Linked DNA regions of Homo sapiens: region 1 is linked to region 2. The links are contacts of gene promoters, found by promoter capture Hi-C in blood cells and fetal thymus (Javierre and others, 2016). All regions are on one chromosome and are shown on one strand. Each heading gives the region's core, a stretch centred on a gene start or on the middle of the fragment in contact. The rest is flanking DNA. Distances are from core to core; before and after follow the strand shown.

Evidence for each region. The method cuts DNA at HindIII sites, captures the fragments that hold promoters and counts their contacts. A CHiCAGO score of 5 or more calls a contact.
Region 1: a contact is called between a fragment that was not itself captured here and the fragment with the promoter of VCF1 in region 2, in 2 of 17 cell types (megakaryocytes and neutrophils). The highest score is 5.9, in megakaryocytes.

Annotation. Positions count from the first base shown.
Region 1 is chr17:72,977,181-72,981,330 of GRCh38, forward strand. The region is part of intron 4 of SLC39A11 (solute carrier family 39 member 11); the gene reads right to left. Among named protein-coding and RNA genes, the nearest start is that of SLC39A11, 110 kb to the right of the region's middle. RefSeq lists an enhancer at 724-1,224. The HindIII fragment of the contact is 2,484 bases long and covers 839-3,322 here.
Region 2 is chr17:73,231,144-73,235,259 of GRCh38, forward strand. It overlaps VCF1 (VCP nuclear cofactor family member 1), which reads right to left and starts at 1,251. Exons shown (of 4, transcript NM_001098832.2): 1 at 943-1,251. The coding sequence starts at 1,163. MTNAP1 (mitochondrial nucleoid associated protein 1) reads left to right here and starts at 1,290. Exons shown (of 6, transcript NM_001351264.2): 1 at 1,290-1,346; 2 at 2,077-2,182. RefSeq lists an enhancer at 1-744. The HindIII fragment of the contact is 5,222 bases long and covers 638-4,116 here.

The DNA.
Region 1 (4,150 bases), core at 831-3,330, 250 kb before region 2:
GCTGAAGAAGCAGGGAGCCACATGGGAAGGAATGTGGACGGCCCCAAGGAGTGGAGAGAGGCCCTGGCTAATAGCCAGAAAGGACATGGGGCCTCACTCCCGCAGCCCTGCTGTATCCTGCCAGCAGACAGGAGCTTGGAAGGGACTCCGAAATCCAGATGAGAACACGACCGGCTGACCCACCCACGTGCTCCCAACCCTCTGACCTATGGAGTTTTGAGCTAACAAAGGGTGCTGTTTAAAGCTGTTAGACTTATAATCATTTGTACACAGCAAGAGAAAACTAAAATACCAGGGCAGGAAAAGGAGCGTGTCCCCAGGCCCTAGTTCATGCAGATAAAACCTGTCTTGGATATCAGAGGCAAGGGGAGAACACCCCCACCCCTGGTGAGATACACCAGGGACAAGTTTAGATGAACCACCTGAAAAAGCATCAGAGAAAGTGAAAGAGCAAAGAGCAGAGAGAGGGACTAGGGACATGTGGGAAAGAACCATGAAGTGCTAGCACCTTCCATAAAACACACAAACAAAGGGCTGGAACAGAAACACCCCCACACAGCAACAATGAGTTTGGGGAAACGGTAGTGATATTATCCAAAGGGTAACGGCTCCCAAAGTGAATGAATGCTTCCTATTCAATAAAGCAGTAAAGTACCGAGGTGGCCTGGAGAGCACGGCCAGCCACCAGCTGCCTGGGAGAGCGAAGGTGCCCAGGAGACCGACTGCATCGGCACCTGTTCCCAGGAGCCTCTCCCACCCACAAAGCCACAGGAATAGCAACCAGCAGTGAGTCACCGGGTCACCAGAGAAAAACCAGCAAAATGTCAGTCTCCGAGCAAGCTTCTCTATCATTGGATTCCTAGCCAGGGTGGTCGTTGAGAATCTTCCAGGCCGTCCTCCAGCCTGCGAACGCAGGGGAAGTACGGGGAGGTTCTAGTGAGAATCTGGGCTGTCGTCTGGGCCCCATTTGTAAACCCCAAACCACAGCCCTCTTCCCTGCCCTTAGGCGTTCCCTGCCTTCCTCTTCCTCTTCCTTCCTTCCTTCCTCTTTCCCTTCTTTCCTCCCTTGCTCCCTCCCTCCCTTCATCAGATATTTACCGAGCATTGTTCCCTGTGAGTCACTGTGCTGGTGTTGGCGACACGGCCAAGAACAAGCCTAACAAAGTCCCTGTCCTCAAGGAGCCTACATTGTGGTGGGGAAACCGATGATAAAGAAGTAAAAAATATACAAACGAACAAACTGGATAAGGAAGGTTGCTGACAAGTTCTAGGAAGGAAATAAACAGAGAAAGCCACGCACATTGTGGGGGGTCAGGGAGGAGCTTGGGAGGAGACATTTGCACTGAGGCAGCCACGCACAGAGCTTCGGGAACTCTGTTTCAGAGAAAAGGAATAGCAGATGCAAAGGCCGGGAGGTGGGACAGGGCTTGGGGAGCTTCTAAGAAGGGGGTGGGGAGACTGTGGGGAGCATGGAAGTGGAGGTGAGGGAGTAAGGGGGACCAGTCAGGAGGCCAGGTTCTGGGACAGAGACAGTAATGCCTTAGGCTGGGGTGGAAAGGAGTGGACAGGATGGGTCCACAAGACCTTTTTGGAAAGGTGCCAACAGCACTTGTTCATGAGAACGAAAGGAAACAACAAATCATCTCTGTTATCATTGAACACTTAGGGCACGCCAACTCTGGTAAGGCCCTGCCTTCAGCCCTGGGATACAAAGAAGGATGAGGTCTGGGTCTTGCTTTCAATGAGGTGACTGACTAGCCAGAAACATAATTTTACAAAGATAAAAAAGAAGGCCCTTGCTCTGGGGCTGACATGGTTAGGTTTTGTGTCTCCACCCAAATCTCATCTTGAATTGTAAACCCCATAATCACCACGTGTCAAGGGAGAGACCACGCGGAGGCAACTGAATCATGGGGGCAGTTTCCCCCATGCTGTTCTCGTGATAGTGAGTGAGTTCTCACGAGATCTGATGGTTTTATAAGGGGCTCCTCCCCCTTCGCTTGCCACTTCTCCTTCCTGCCGCCTTGTGAAGAAGCTACTTTTTCCCCTTCACCTTCCGCCATTATTGTAACTTTCCTGAGGGCTCCCCAGCCACGCAGAACTGTGAGTCAATTAAACCTCCTTCCTTTATAAATTACCCAGTCTTGGGCAGTTCTTTATAATGGTCTGAAAACAGACTAATACAGGGGCTATGTAAGTGAGACAGATAATTCTCACTCCAGTTATGCTGAGAGGAACCTGGACTCCGAGAGCACATCTGATCCATGGAAATACTGTCTGTCTTCACCTGTCTTGAGAAGCAGAGCAGGCAATGGGATGAGGGACGGATAGAGACATTCCCAAACATTACTGGTGAAAGTGTAAATCAGTACAAGCTCAGGAGAGGGCAACTTGAGAATTTCTAGAAAAGGGAAAATTTGGGTCCTGATGTGTGAAGCGCCACAGAAAATCGAGCCAGTTCAGGCCCCTGCCTTGTCCCTACCCAGCTGAGCTGCAAGGAGGCTGCTCTGCAGAGCTCACACTAACCCACCTCCCTCCAACACAGGACCCCAAAACAAATCTTGCCTATAACAGGTAGCATGCTGGAAAACCAAGACCTCAGATGATGCAGCTGGCAGAGTCTCAAACCTATGCTACTGCCCAAGGTAGATGGAGGCAAAGCAGCATGCCCTCCTCCCATAACCTGCTCCCCAAAGCGGCAAGCACCCCTCCCATGACTTGCTCCCCAAAGCAGCACACCCACTTCCCATGACCTCCCCAAAATGGTGCATCCTTCTCCCACGACTTGCTGCTGGATCCACTGATTCCTACACCAGCTCTCCAGCTGGGACAGCCACCCTTCCTGTCCCCAGCCACCCTGCTCTGTTAAGACCATGACATCCTATTTGCATCTATAACTCCCACCAACAATAGCGGGACCCAGGTGCTTATTTATGAAGATATTACTGTACATGTACAAATCTCAAAGAATCATCTAAAGAACGATTATTAACAAAAAAAGGTATTTTGTTTGGTGGCTCAAGACAAAATTAGTGGTGGCTCAAGACAAAATCAATAGCTTTTCTATGCAAAAACAACGGCCAGATGGAATATGTCATGAAATAGGAGACCCCGTCTGTAATACTCATAAAAGGAAATGAAATACCCAGGAATACATTCAACCCTAAACATGAAAAGTCCTTATGAAGAAAACTTAAAATGCTACTGGGAGACGCGATGAGTAGCCTGGATAGATGGAGTGGTGAGCTTTGTTCTTAGGCAGAAACGCTCATCGTCATAAACCTGTCATTTCTGCCTACGTTAATGTAGAAATTTGAAACAAAGCTTGTAAAAAAAAATACCTAGACGATGTTCTTGAAATTCGCAAGCTGATGCTAAAGTTCACATGGGAAAATATGCTGTAAGAATAACCAAGAAACTTTTGAAAAGGAACGTAATACAAGTAATACAGAAGACGAATAGATGATAAGACGTGAAGTTGCAGCAACTGAAACAGAATAGTACCTGAAGAGGCAGAGCTGAAAAGATTAAAGCGGCACCATATAATAAAAATAGAATGTGAGGCTGGGCACGGTGGCTCATGCCTGTAATCCCGACACTTTGGGAGGCTGAGGCGGGTGGATCAAAGAGGTCAGGAGTTTGAGACCAGCCTGGCCAAGATGGTGAAACCCCGTCTCTACTAAAAATACAAAAATTAGCCAGGCATGATGGTGGGTGCCTATAATCCCAGCCACTATGGAGGCTGAGGCAGAGAATTACTTGAACCTAGAAGGCAGAGGTTATAGTGAGCTGAGATCATGCCACTGCATTCCAGCCTGGGTGACAGAGGGAGACTCCATCTCAAAAAAAAAAAAAAAATAGAATGTGAGCTACAAATATAACATTAAATTTTCTGGTAGGCACAATCACCAAGGGGAAGGAAACAGGTGAAATTAATTGTAATAACATATTTTATTTTATCCAAATATATCCAAAATAGTTTCACTTCAATAAGGTAAGCAATATAAAAATTGGTAATGAGATATTTTATACATATATATTTTTAGTAAGTCTTCAAAATCCACTGTGTATTTTTTATTTATAGCCCATCTCAATCTGGACTAGTCACACTTCAAGCACTCAATACACACATATGGCTGGCTAAATGGCT
Region 2 (4,116 bases), core at 1-2,500:
GCAGCTTGGGGAACCCTAGGTTTTCACTATGGGACCAAATAAACTCAGAATACTTTTGAGAACTTCAATCACATGAAATAATTATTTCAGAGAAGGATCCTTGTGGAAAGACCGTAACAGGAAGAGCATTCTGAGGTAACCTTTCCCAACTTTCTCCTCCACACATTCTTGCAGAGGAAATTAAGAGAGAGAAAAAAATTAAGAAATCCCAACTTAGTCCGGACTCTAGTAGTACATGTCAAGCACAGAACCCCTAATTTAAGACCCGCGTCCCGAGGCCAGGCTCCCTCGGGAAGGTAGCGAGTGCATCGCGATAAAATCTTTCCTCCCGCCTTCGGAGTCAAACGGCCCCGCAATCCAAACAGTTTAGAATCCAGCTTGTTCTTAATGCCACAGTCAAGAGAAGATCCATAACCCGCCTTGGTCATCTGCCCTTCTGTGTTCACAACCGTTCAGGGCACAAGTTCTTCGGTCTAACCGAATCTTTCCCTGCTGCGGGGTTAAGCCCAACCTTTCTTTCTGACCTTGGGGAGCCGGCAGCTCCCCGCCCGGTGCCCTCACAAAAGCCTTTGGGGGCTCCCTCTCCAAGATGAGACGTTTATCCCATCCCCCCACCCTCCTAAATTTAGGACAGGAAAGCTTTAGGGCCACCGTCTCTCTTCCGGGACCGATCACACTTCGTTCCAAATAGGAAAAGACAGGGGGGAAAAAAGATGGAGGGGCGGGAGACCTGGACCCCGGAGAGTCACCTTCCAGCTACCCACAGGAACCAAGCATCCGATCACTCGCGCATCCCTCTCCCCTCCTCCCCCGGCCCGCAGTGCACCCCACAGGGAGCCCCGCCGGGTCCACTCTTGCTCCGACCCCCATTTCGCGCGCCCCCTCGGCTCTATCTCCCAGATCCTCAGGCGACGAATGGAAAGGGGGTCCCTTCCCTCTCACCTGGGACGGAGGCGCTCGCTCATGGCAGCTGGCGGATGGAAGCTACGCGGCGCCGCTCCGCGAAGAGAGGGAACAGAGGGGGTTGTGTTTCGGCGGCCGCCACGCCCACCCCCTCGGGCCTTGGCTCTCGCAGCCGCTCGGGTGGACGCAGCCGGTGGCGAGTACCCCTCAGTCGGACCCGTACCACCACTACTTCCGGCGTCTGCTCCGCGCCCCCCCATGTCGCTGCCGCCGTGGTACCGCCCTCTCGCGGCTGCGCAGTGGCACCATCCCAACCGCACCGACTGGTAACCCCGCCCACGGGAAGAGGCGGGCTCGGAGCGGGAGGAGCGACTAGGAGCTTCTGGGAGAAAGGACCTCCCCTGGGGTGGCAGAAGCGCTCGCCTGTTCACAGCCAACGGAGGGTACGGTATAAAAGTCAAGCCAGGTTTCAAATAAATTCAATTATGTCATAATAATATCATACAAGTATTTGAGTTGAATCCGTGTAACATATTTTAAAACAGGCGGACCTATCCGGCAGTGGTGCAGACGGCCTGACGAGGTTCCTTGGCCGGGGGTTGGGCAGGGGCCTGGGGGGCTTCCCTGGGGGGCTTGTCGCCGGGGCCGCCTGGGCTTTCAGGTCTTCCGAGGTGAGGACGGTGCTCTGTGGGGAGCTTGCAAGGGCGGGTTTGTTTTCCGCGGCCCACGTTCTAAGTCTGGGGGAGACTCTCCTGAGCGGAGAGGGTAGGGAATCGGGTGCCGGGGCCGGCGGAGGGTCTTCCTGGAACCGCAGGAGGAAATCCTCGGTGGGGCTGCGGGAACGGCTGTCCCTGACCCAGGAGCTGCCGGGCCGACCCCATCCACTCCGCAGAATCAGAACAGCTGGCAGAATCAGAACAGCTTTCAGGGAAAGGAAGGGTGCGGGGAGGTGGGCAGGCTGGTAACGCAGCGGGAGGAGGGAAAGGCGGCTGGAGAGCGCCGGAGGTGAGGGTGAGGATTAGTGGAACTATTGAGGTCCTCCTTGAGCCCGGAGGCTGGGGAGGTCTTAACTCTCTGCTTTCCGGAACCTGTGTTTCTATTTGGTTCAGTATCGTGCCGCGTTTACTCACTGTGCATGCTGCCAAGTCACCTGTCTGATCGTGTCCTACACAGGCTGACATTCACGTTTCATTCTGCCACACTCGGGAACGGTGATCGGGGAAGCATGGGGATCCGGGAGAAGCACCCACAAAACTAGCATCCTCCTGGAGGAGCTCGGGTAAGAAAACAGACACCCACGTATAGACGTTATCGTGGGAATGTACCGGGATCTTTCAAGTAGGGTTGAGTGTGAGGTGGAGTGGAGGCAGAAACGTCTAGCAGGTGTCAAGCCCTTCCTAACGTTGTTAGCCGAAGGTCCATGGACTGGCTTCATTTGTGTGTATTATTGTAAACAAACAGTCTGTGGCTTTCATCCTGTTAGTGTGTACCTCCAAAGAAAGAAAGAATGATGGCTCACGCCTGTAATCCCAGCAGGCTGGGCGCGGTGGCTCACGCCTGTAGTCCCAGCACTTTGGGAGGCCGAGGCGGGTGGATCACCTGAGGTCAGGAGTTCAAGACCAGCCTGGCCAACATGGTGAAACCCCGTCTCTACTAAAAATACTAAAATTAGCTGGGCGTGGTGGCGCACGCCCTTAATCCCAGTAATCCCAGCCACGCGGGAGGCTGAGGCAGGAGAACCGTTTGAACCTGGGAGGCTGAGGTTGCTGTGAGCCGAGATCGCGCCACTGCACTCCAGCCTGAGTGATAGAGCAAGACTCCATCTCAAAAAAAAAAAGACCAAACAACAACAAAGTAAAAATGATTACTGTAATCTGTTGGCAGAAAACAGTTTTGTTTTGAAGGACTTCGTACAGGATAAGGTGGGTTGGTTGCTTTATTGAATGGATTGGTGAAGATTGTGTCTATTTTGTAAGTGGTTTCAGTCACCCTTTTTAATCTCTTTGGTAGTCAGAAGATATTATCAGTTGTAGTACTGAATAATATTTAAACGTTTATATCTAAAGAATTAAGTGAACAAATATTGTATGCCAGGCTCAGTGCTAGGTTTTTACATACAGCTGTGTGCAGGATAGATATGTTTCCTGCCCTCTGGAACTTTATAGAAAGAATAAGAGATGTAGAAAGGAAATAACTTTCAACTAAACATTGGAATTAAACATTTTCTTTTCTGGACTCTAAAGAATAACAGGTACAAATATACATGGTATAAATGTTTTTTTTTTAATTTTTTACATCGTATATGTTTAACAAAGATGTCAAACTAATTTGCCAGTAATCTGTTGTACTAGAAACTATAAGTAGGCCAGGCGTGGTGTCTCACGCCTGTAATCCCAGCACACTGGAAGGCCGAAGGCGGGCAGATCACGAAGTCAGGAGATTGAGACCATCCTGGCCAACATGGTGAAACCCCGTCTCTACTAAAAATACAAAAATTAGCCTGGCGTGGTGGCGCATGCCTGTAGTCCCAGCTCCTCGGGATGCTGAGGCAGGACAATAGCTTGAACCTGGGAAATGGAGGTTTCAGTGAGCCGACACTGCACTCCGGCCTGGTGACAGAGTGAGACTCTGTCTCAAAAAAAAAAAAAAAAAAGTATAAGTGAAAAACAGGACTGTGTCCTTGGCCATGTATATATTTGTGCATTATGCATACATTTTATGTATATCTGTGTGTGTGTGTGTGTGTATATGCATATTACTAAATGTTAGTAGAGCTTCATTTCTCATTCTTTGATTGTGGTAATTCTAATATTTTCTTCTTACACCCTAGTGCATATTCTATTTATCACTTTGGAAACCTCTGCTGTAATCAGTAACCTTTGGCTGGGCGTGGGCGTGGTAGCTCGCGCCTGTAATCTCAGCACTTTAGGGGGCTGAGGTGGGTGGATTGCCAGAGCTCAGGAGTTCGAGACCAGTCTGGGTAACACGGACACGGTGAAACCCCGTCTTTACTAAAATACAAAAAATTAGTCAGGCGTGGTGGCATGCCCCTGTAGTCCCAACTACTTGGGAGGCTGAGACGAGAATTGCTTGAACCTGGGAGGCGGAGTTTGCAGTGAGCAGATATTGTGCCACTGCACTCCAGCCTGGGTGACAGAGTGAGACTCTGTTTCCAAAATAAATAAATAAATAAATAACCTTTGGTTCCTGGCC